2 separate regions of the Homo sapiens genome follow, and region 2 is linked to region 1. The links are contacts of gene promoters, found by promoter capture Hi-C in blood cells and fetal thymus (Javierre and others, 2016). All regions are on one chromosome and are shown on one strand. Each heading gives the region's core, a stretch centred on a gene start or on the middle of the fragment in contact. The rest is flanking DNA. Distances are from core to core; before and after follow the strand shown. Region 1 holds the start of ZMAT2 (zinc finger matrin-type 2). Region 2 holds the start of CYSTM1 (cysteine rich transmembrane module containing 1).

Region 1 (5,150 bases), core at 1,091-3,590:
ATTCTGAACCATTGAGATCAGAAACCAGATACTTAGCCTTCTACTGTAGCTACGGAACCAGATTCTGGTGAATTTGTCCACAATCAGCCATTGGCCTGTCTGGGGAGTTTTTGGAAGACAGCAAAGAGGGGCAATGGCTGCTTTCAGCTTTGAGGACAGATGCTATCCTAAGGGCATGGCAGTACCCATGTTGATTTGACATCTCTCTAGCCCATCCATTGCTTACAGTAGAAGAGTGGGGCTGTATGCTTGATAATCTTGAACATTGAACTTAATAGATGACTTGACAAGGTAGAGATCTGATATTTTGAGATTTTGGAGACCATTTCCTGTGCCAGAATCACTGCTCTATTCCATACCGTGCCATGGAGGCTGTTTTAGAAGTGGTTGGATAACATGTTAAATAAAATATTAAGTGTAGTAGTTTGGGTAATTTGTTATTGTTATCAAGGGCTTTGTTTGCATAGACCATAGAAAATGCTTGAGTGTACATTGGAGAATTCTGTGAGGTAGAAGTAACCTCCCTGGGATGATGCTTCTGTATTCAGTGATGAGCAGCCACAGTTTCTCCCTCTTTCCCTGTCTCCTCAAGAGGTAGTTTTTTTGTTTGTTTGTTTTTAGACGGAGTCTTGCTCTGTCACCCAGGCTAGAGTGCAGTGGCGTGATCTCGGCTCACTGCAACCTCCGCCTCTCAGGTTCAAGAGATTCTCCTGCTTCAGCCTCCCGAGTAGCCAGCTAATTTTTGTATTTTTAGTAGAGACAGGGTTTCACCATCTTGGCCAGGCTGGTCTCAAACTCCTGACCTCATAATCCACCCACCTCAGCCTCCCAAAGTGCTGGGATTACAGGCATGAGCCACTGTGCCCGGCCAAGAGGTAGTTTTGTTGCTAAAAATCAACATATAGTGAGCCGGTATGCCACAGTGCTTCACTCTAGAGTGTTGTTGATGACTGGCCTTTCCAAATCCAATTATGCTGATTAAATTATGTTCTACTATAAAGTTCCCCAGATGATGGAAAAATAAGTGAACCAAAGGGTGGTAGCATTGCTTCAAGGAAAAGAGCCCAAGTGCAAAACATGCTTTTTATATGTGCGTCGGGAAGGGTGCCTCTGTTGCAAACGTTTCAGTGTAGTTTAGGGTCATATCCCTAGTGCATGCAGGTGAATGAGAGGCATCTAGACCCCCTAATGGCGCTTCGGCCTTAAAAAAGGTTTAGAAATTCTTGGCAGTGGACGCAAAGTTGCTAGACTAGATCAGAGACCACTGTTTTGCGAACCTCAGTTTCCTTGTTTGTAAAATAGTTGAACTAAATCTTGACCCTTTAATGCTTGTTTTGAAATCCAAGGCAAAAAACAATTGCAAGCGCCCTTACTTCCGTGTTGCTTCATACTCCTCTTGCGCCTGCGCTGTCTCCTTGGAGCAGAGGCGGGGCCAACAAGCCTGTTTTAGAAACCCTCCAGTCCTTAGCTCGTTTAGAACACAAGACTCCAAGCTTATTGGAGGGCTATCTTGCCTTACGGCTCCAAGCCGCTTTTTACGGCGTTTTTCAGCTCGCCATTCACTTCGCTGTGAAGATGGCGTCGGGCAGCGGGGTAGGTGTTGTGTCTGAGGAGGAGGTTTTGCGGGGTGGGGAATGGTTTTTCAGACCTGAATAGAGACAAACTCCTGCACCCGACTGGCTTCCCGATATCTCCTCGAGATCCCAGGGTTCAGGTTCAAGAACTCCCCAGTAATAGGCCTTGGCAGAGGGTCAGTAGAATCGCGGAGGTTTCTCGGGTTGGGGTCTTGAGGCTACCTCAGTCTTCTCGTACAGTCCAAAGAGGCTTTGCTTTCAAAACGTCCTGTAGACACCTGGACCGCGAGGGCGCGGTTCCCTGCTTCTCTAGGGGCCCAGACACGGCGACGGATCTTGACGCTTTTTCCTCCCCACAGACAAAAAACTTGGACTTTCGCCGAAAGTGGGACAAAGATGAATATGAGAAACTCGCCGAGAAGAGGCTCACGGAAGAGAGAGAAAAGAAAGATGGTGGGTGCTAACTACATCAAGGGCTAAGGGTATCACAGAGGCGATGCGATGATGGAGAGCGGGTGGGAGTTGAAGTGCGCTGCCTTCCCACGCGGTGTAAGCTCTGGCAGAGTGCTGCTTCCCTGGGCCTAGGTTTCTGCATTTACAAAATGAGAGCGAGGAGGTGGGATGAAGTAAGTAGTTTTGAGATGCTCTTCAGCTCTATTTCACTCTGCTTCCTTGCCCACCCTTTGCTTGGCTCGTTTAATGCTTTCCTGAAGTACAGAGAAGATAACGGCATCCTTAGTAGTGACAGAGAAGTTAAGTAGAGTATTTTGCTGCTGTGCATTACCGCTATCAGTGACCCCCCTCTTTCCCTTGAAATTTCTTAAGGGAGAGAACATTCCTGGCCCAATCAAGACCCTCCCATATAGTCTGAGAAAAGCCGGGGAACTTTGCAGGATCTGTGATTGTTTCAGCTAGAGCTTAGTAGTGCTGTTTCTCTGTGCCTTGTACATCAGGGAGTTGGTGCTTCTCTCCTGTTTAAGAGATTGCATAAAGAAATGTTTTATTTTGTCATCTGTTTCAAACGTGTACATTCTTCTTTCCCTTTACCTCCAGGCCACCTTGCACTCACTAACTCTTTCATTTTTTATGTAACATGTAAAATAAATAGTGCTTGACATGTAACAGGCATTTCCTAGATGTTGGTCCCCTTTTATAAATTTGCCCAGCTCTCAGAAGGTTCCTTTCCGTTATGCCTAGGGTATCTGCCTGAAAGCATTCTTGAATGTCCTTGCTCCCGTTTTGAAAAAGTTGCTTCTAGTAATTCTTCAGAAATTCTCCCCCACAATTCAGTTAATCAATGAATATAAAACATACTGTTTTTAGATTTGCTGGCTTTAAAGTGGAGAAAAGCTGTAGAGTTGAGGATTGCTTATGATTTCTTCCTGTGTTGAGATTCTCCCCAGCTGCTACTTTAAGTGTCTGTTGTGTCCTTTCAGGAATGATTTTGAAATGAGTAAGACCTGAATTTTGGATTTCATGCATTTTTTTTCCTTTCTGGTTGAGGAACTATAATATTGAAGGGACTTCCTTCCCCATTATGTTTCAGGAAAACCAGTGCAGCCTGTCAAGCGAGAGCTTTTACGGCATAGGGACTACAAGGTGGACTTGGAATCCAAGCTTGGGAAGACAATTGTCATTACCAAGACAACCCCTCAATCTGAGATGGGAGGGTGAGTTGCTTATCATTTTTCCTCTGCAGCCAAGAATGCATCTAATAAGCCACCTATTTTGGTTTTAGGAAGTGTTAAGGAAGGTCCTTGGCCCCAGGATTACGTCCTTCTTGCCTGTAATTCTATCTTTATATTTGTTTTTCTGTGTCTCCCAAGGTCTCAAGTTGACATGATAGTGTCTCTAGGAGTGGTCACTCAGTGGGTTTCTTCATGTTATTAGCATTGGCTGGGCACAGTGGCTCACGCCTGTATTCCCAGCACTTTGGGAGGCCAAGGCAGGAGGATTGCTTGAGCCCAGGAATTCAAGACCAGCCTGGGTAACACAGTGAGACCCTGTCTCAATTAAAAAAACCAAAACAAACAAAAATCATACTATGAGCACTACAGCTACTACTCAATATAGTTTTTAAATTTTTTATTGCCATTGTACTTGTTATCAATTCTGATTTACTATTAATATTTTAAAAGGGATTATTTGATCTGTCAGAAGAAGAAATGAAGGAAAGGACTACTGAGGAGATTTCTAGGAGAGAAATTAGGTGGAGCTAGAATAGAGCCTAGGAGTTGTTAATGGTGAAGAAGAGGGGTTTGAGGTTCCAGACTAGCTGCAAAGGCTGTAGTTGTTATGGATGCCTGATTGTACACCTTCTTCCAAGACTATAACCTATAGGAAGAAGGGTCCTACAAGAGCTTGTCACCCTTTTGCCCCCCACTGCTTCTCTGTCCAGTTAGGTTTTCTGGCAGGAGAGCAACACAGATAGCAATGAGTGACACTTCTCTGAGCTGCTTAGTAAACCCACTGTTGTCCATTCCTGTCTGTATTAGTTATCTATTGTTATGTAAATTAACAAATTAACCTAAAGCTTAGCAGCATAAACTACACCACTCACAGTTTCTTTGGGTAAGGAATCTGGGAGTGGCTTACCTAGGTGGTTCTGGCTCAGGGTCTTCATGAAGCTGCAATCAAGGAGTTGGCAAGGTAGGTCTGCATTCATATGAATCTTAAGTGGGGCTGGAAGATCTGCTTCCAAGCTCTCTCACATGCCTGTGGTTTGGAAGCCTAAGTTCTTTGCCCCATAGACCTTTCTTTTTTCTTTTTCTTTTTTCTTTTCTTTTTTTTTTTTTTTCTGAGACAGAGTTTCACTCTTCTTGCCCAGGATGAAATGCAATGGTATGATCTCGGCTCACCACAGCCTCGCCTCCTGGGTTCAAGCGATTCTCCTGCCTCAGCCTCCCAAGTAGCTGGGATTACAGGCATGCACCACCTGATTTTTTTGTATTTTTAGTAGAGACGGGGTTTCTCCGTGTTGGTCAGGCTAGTCTCGAACTCCCGACCTCAGGTGATCCGCCCGCCTCGGCCTCCCAAAGTGCTGGGATTACAGGCGTGAGCCACCATGCCCGGCCACCCCATAGACCTTTCTATAAGACTGCTCACAATAAAGCAACTGGCTTCCCCAGAGCAAGTAACCCAAACAAAGACAGAAGGCATGGTTTTTAAAATAACCTAATTTTGGAAGATACTACTTTTGACATATTCTATTGGCCAAACAGACCAACTCTGGTACAAATTGGGAAGAGACTACACAGAGTAGGAATACCAAGAGGGTGGGGCTCATCCTGGGGCTGTCTTGGAAGATGACTGCTATACTCTCTCGAAAGCTAAGGCTTTATAGAAATGAAGGCTTAACACTTCTAAAAAGAAGTTTACCTAAAAATTTGAGTTTCTTGGTTGAAAATGATAAGATCCTTAAAACCATATTTGACTCAGGTGCTGTTTCTTCCTGTTAGATATTACTGCAATGTCTGTGACTGTGTGGTGAAGGACTCCATCAACTTTCTGGATCACATTAATGGAAAGAAACGTAAGGCTTGGAGGTAGCTTGTGACTAGGGCTGGAATTGGGTTT
Region 2 (5,150 bases), core at 1,058-3,557, 530 kb before region 1:
CTCATCTCTGTTCTTGGATGCTGTCAGCAACACTCCTTGAGTTTTTACCCACATAATAACACTTTCCTCAGCATGGATGTGGAGGTGGGGGTGAGGAATGTTCTATTTTTCCTTCGATGGTTACGCCCTCACCCTACCAACTCAGTAAAAGGGGAGTGGTCAGGGAGCGTACTGAGAATGTGTCCTAGCATCTTTTCTTCCCTAGCACAGCCTTCATATGACCCAGCTGCCATGAGAAGCTTGCCTCCCTTCTAAGGGAATTACCCCTGCCTTCCACTCCATCCTCACCTTGCCCTGCCCAGATTAGAGGCACGGAGGCATGTACCACAGGCCTGAAAAACTGTCCAGCCAAAAAGCCTGACTGCCTTGAGTACTATCAGGGTGTAGTTATGGACGTGCCTGTTTCTGCTCTTCCCTCTGCATTAGTGCTCTGCAAAGGGTGGCTCTTACCCTCAGATGGTCCAGAGGTAGTTTGGGGTGTGCATGGATCACCTTCACTCTTCAGAGGCAAACAGACAATGCTGCTCTTCTCCAACAGCCTCTGAAGGACACCACCTACTGACTGGTTCTGAGATGTTTGCTGCCCCAGAGTCTCCCACCTGCTTCTTCCTCCCCCTCAGTCCTTTTTTGTAGCCTCTCAGCCTCCCTTCTCTTAATGCTCTTAGCACCCTTTCCTGGGTCTCTATTTACCCTGCCCTCCCTTTCAGCAACTCCTTCCCAAACCACTGCATACTTCTCCTTTCTTTCCAATCCCTCCTCCCTTCCCAGCACTTTCGCCCTCCATTGAATCCCTCAAGCCTCATTCTGGCCCCACTCCTCCCCTCACCCTCTATCCCTGCCCTCCTCAGATCTGCCAAACACCTCAGGCCTGGCTGCCTCTGTCCTGTTCCTACCAACCTTCTGACCATGCCTCTGTGCTCCTTGGGACCTGGGCTCACATTTTCAATCTCTTCTCTCCTATTAGTACAGCTCTGTCTAGAGCCATGGTTCTTCTCTACCTTTCACAGCTGTCTTCTTTCCCACTTATATGAGTTTCTTTAAGTGTGAAAATTAAAAAGTGCCACTTAAATACAATGATTAAGTCATAATAAACAGTACAAGTTGTACTTATGTGAGACATACCACCCATACACGTTTGATCTTCGAGAACCACATCTCAATCTGCCCATGGCCCATTGCCTGACACTAAAAGATGCTCACAAGAAGTTGACTATAAACTAACTTCTTGGTCTAAGATCCTAAACTCTTGAGAGGGAAGGTTTCAATACATATGAAACCTTCTTGGCAGTGCAGGGATGAGGAGAGTAAAACTGAAATGAAAGTCAGCAAATAGTGAAGGTGTGAAATAGGCAGTGACTCTCACACTGAGACCTCCAGGGGATGTTAAATTTTCATTTCGAAGCTGATAGTCTTATCTGGGAAGCCTAGAGAGTAACAAAAGTTGTAGGCATATACTTATATTAGAGTGGTGCAAAAGTAATTGCTGTTTTTGCCATTTAAAAAAAAAATGCAAAAACCACAATTACTTTTGCACCAACCTAATAGCAAGCAAGGGGAGGAATATGGAGAGAAAATCAATTTCTAAAATGAAAAATAAAAAATTTTTTGCAAGTAGGACTTGCAAGCTCATTCTAGGCCTTGCTCTGGGAGCTTTTCGGTAACTTCTCTTCCTGTTGGAACAGAAGAAGGAAACCTTCAGGACAGAAGATTCTGTCCCCCTTCCCCCTCCTGATGTGAATGAAGTCTCATTACACTCTAAAGTACTGGCGGGACTACTTGTTGCAAGGTTTATGGGGAAAAGTAGCCAGAGAGCAATCCAGTTATCAGCCTCAGCCCCATTCCGCTCAGGTACAGCTCGGGAAGTAAGCCCCCAACCCTAGTTGGGTCTGGACCAACAAGACACGAGGAGGCAGCAGCCCACAGCCGACCCCTCATGCCACGCACTGAGCAGGGTTCCGCATGGACGCTGGTCTTGCCTCCCAGGCGCCTGAACTAGCGGAGTTGGGGTATCGGGTGGAGTCTCGGAGAACCAATCCAATCTGAGGGGGACGCCTGTGGGAGTCCTAAGTATCCAGCGCAGCTGGGAGGCCCACGTTGGGAAGTCGGAGACCGACCCCGCCTCCCGACTGCGCCGACTGCAAGAGAGCGCTTCCGGCGGCGCTTGGAGGCCGAGCAGTTGGGGGCGGGGCTCGTGCTGTGACGCAAGCCTCGCCTCGCCCCGCGCCGCGCGCGTTGCCAGGGTGATCAGGTGACTCCCGGTTCGCGGCGCTGGGAGCGGCCGTGACGTCAGGCGCCCGGCTGCTCCTCACTTGCTCTGAGACAGGTGCGGCAAGTCTACTGCGGGCTGGTCCGGGCTCCTCAGGTTCAGACCCGACCGTTATCCAGTCGGTTCGTGGAGAGGAGAGGTGAGGTGCAGCGGACCTGGCCCGACCCAGCTGGGACCAGGGCGGGGATCAGGCACGGACAGGGCGCGTCCCCGGGCTCCCTGGGGAGCGCCCTGAGAACTGGGGGGCACCCGGGCTGGCCTGGCTCAGGCAGGGGTTCGCGCAGCCCCTGGGGAGGGGCAGGGAGGCAGGGAAGCTGCTGCCGCCAGCTGGATCCCTCCCGGCGCCCCGCGGCTACTCTGGGGCTCCTGGTCGCCGCGCCGCGCGTCTCGGCGGTGGACTCACAGGGTCTCCGCGTCGCTGCGGTTCTCGTCTCACGAGGAGTCGGCGGGCTCGGAGCGGGGCTCGCCACACCCCGTCCCGGGGGACGTCCGCGGGAGGCTTCTGGATTTCTTCGCCTTGGGCTGCGATTTCTGAGGCGCTGCTCTGCCTATTCCGAGCTGGGCCAGCCGGGGGCAGGGGGCAGGTCGCGAGTCCCGCGGGTGGGAGCGGAGCGGAAGTAACTAGTGACTGGAAGTAACTAGGGAACGCAAAGCCGGCGCTCGGAGGCCGGGGTGTTCAGAGAAGGCGTTGCGGGGGAAAGGAATCCCGGCTGCTGTTGAGAGCCGTGGATTGGGATCTGAGCGGACCTGTTGGAGGAAGTGAAATCTGAGCGGGGTCCTGACGGGTGGGAACTAATCTCCCGGTAGCAGTGGAGGTTGCAGGGGGGAGAGAAGGAGGGGAGGACCCCTGGGGAAGGAGACCATGAGGAAAAACGATTTGGGGACTGACTGGACCGTCTGCTGGGCTGTTTTGGGGGAAAAAAAGTTTGGAGAATTAGGTTAGGGAGGATTAGGAAAGGACCCTTGAGTGCCCACCTGAGAGGCACTGTGTGCTGTGGGGAGCCATTGAAACGTTGGCTAGATTGGGGTAGGGGGAACACTGAGGAAGTTGGTGTGAGGGGAACACTGAGGAAGTTGGTGTGACATTCCGGCAAAAAGGTGACAACACTCTTCTCTGATGGGATTCCTCAAACCCTGCTTATGAAATACTTGTAACCGACAAGGGTAGGGGCTCAGGCAGCCAGGTGCCTTTTTCAGCCATTGTTGGCAAATTTTTAGAAATTAAACAAAAAATAATTGTACATATTTATAGATTTATACAATATGATACATGTAAACTTTGTGGAGTAACCATGTTAGCAGATTTTTAAAAATTCCTTTTTATGAAAGGACCCACCCAAGGGCAGCTCATTTTCGAGTATCTCATTTGACGGGATTTAATGACTGGTTGGGAGCTATGCCCCCCTCAGTATGCAGGGAGATTATAGCGTCCACAACACTTTGCCCTTCAGAGGTTTCAGAGTGACTTACAAACACCTTGTATCCCTAGGGTGAAACCCAAACCCCAAATGACTGGTAAGAGATTTAATAGGGGGAAGTTATTAAAGGAGAACCAGCATCCAAACATTCATGTGGGGCATTGGATTCGCTGAAAGGAGTCCCATACTATTTGTTGATTGTAGATCAAAGATCTCTAGACCTGGCCTGGTGCGGTGGCTCACACCTGTAATCCCAGCACTTTGGGAGGCCGAGGCGGACGGATCACGAGGTCAGGAGATCGAGACCATCCTGACTAACACGGTGAAACCCCGTCTCTACTAAAAATATAAAAAATAAGCCGGGCGTGGTGGCGGGCGCCTGTAATCCCAGCTACACGGGAGGCTGAGGCAGGAGAATGGCGTGAACCCGGGAGGTGGAGCTTGCAGTGAGCCGAGGCTGCGCCACTGCACTCCAGCCTGGGCGACAGAGCGAGACTCTGTCTCAAAAAAAAAAAAAAAAAAATCTCTAGTCCTTTCCTGCCAGCTTTGAGTTTCTCCGTGTAAGGCTGCGTAAGTGTTAGTTGGCTATTTTGTCTTAATTTCCTGAGCAACAGGAAAAATATATTTTGGTTATATGAAGAGGAATGCTTTGGTAATTTATGATTTTTCCCAGCCCTGAAATTTATTGGTGCTAGGACCAAAAATACACAGCTGTCTATTTTATTTTATTTATTTGTTTATTTTTGAGGCGGAGTCTTGCTCTGTCGCCCAGGCTGGAGTGCAGTGTCGAGATCTTGGCTCATTGCAACCTTTGCCTCCTGGGTTCAAGAGCTGTCTATTTTATATTGAAACTTACCAAAGTCTGTTTTCTGGGAGGTAGTGAAATTATTTTGTATTTCTTTGACTCCAGAAAACAGAATTGGACCTCCAGGGATCCTGTACAGTGAAAGGCAGGTTTGGGAATTGCGAAGGAAGGTGGCCGCAGCTGGTTTGTGCGTAAATATAGAAACCGGTGCAGCACTCAAAGGAGTGCAAATCCAGGGTGAGACCTGGGGAAACGGGACTTCCAGTCAGATCAGTGAAGTCATTCTCTGTAAAAGAAGCCCCGAAGTGTGTAAAAGGCCAGAGTAGTTTTTTCCCCGTGTGTTCCTGTTGAGTGGTAGAGATTATGATAGTGATTTTTAAGGGGCTTTGCAGGAGCTTGTTAATATTAAGAATCGCTGGAAATCAGATGTCTTGGCCTCATTAAAAAATTTAGAAAAGTAACTGTTTTCCAAATCTCTTTGATACTATTTGAAGTGGCCAACTAATTATGGTTCCTTTGGAAAGAAACAGTCCACCCCCTCCTTTCCCAAACAAAATAACTATGTGCTGTCAGGGCAGTTAAGTAGGCCAAAAGTTTTTGGAAATTTTCTGCTTTCATTCACCCAAGCCACCCCCACAAGTTTTCTCATTGGTAGAGAACT

What was found. The method cuts DNA at HindIII sites, captures the fragments that hold promoters and counts their contacts. A CHiCAGO score of 5 or more calls a contact.
Region 2: a contact is called between the fragment with the promoter of CYSTM1 here and a fragment that was not itself captured in region 1, in 9 of 17 cell types (fetal thymus, activated CD4 T cells, naive CD8 T cells and 6 more). The highest score is 7.2, in fetal thymus.

The regions. Positions count from the first base shown.
Region 1 is chr5:140,698,886-140,704,035 of GRCh38, forward strand. ZMAT2 (zinc finger matrin-type 2) reads left to right here and starts at 1,562. Exons shown (of 6, transcript NM_144723.3): 1 at 1,562-1,593; 2 at 1,934-2,027; 3 at 3,121-3,244; 4 at 5,033-5,106. The coding sequence starts at 1,576. HARS2 (histidyl-tRNA synthetase 2, mitochondrial) reads left to right here. Exons shown (of 13, transcript NM_012208.4): 13 at 1-420. RefSeq lists enhancers at 1,821-1,890, 3,852-4,394. The HindIII fragment of the contact is 1,698 bases long and covers 1,492-3,189 here.
Region 2 is chr5:140,172,881-140,178,030 of GRCh38, forward strand. CYSTM1 (cysteine rich transmembrane module containing 1) reads left to right here and starts at 2,308. Exons shown (of 3, transcript NM_032412.4): 1 at 2,308-2,405. RefSeq lists an enhancer at 1,886-2,115 and a silencer at 2,406-2,695. The HindIII fragment of the contact is 7,638 bases long and covers 238-5,150 here.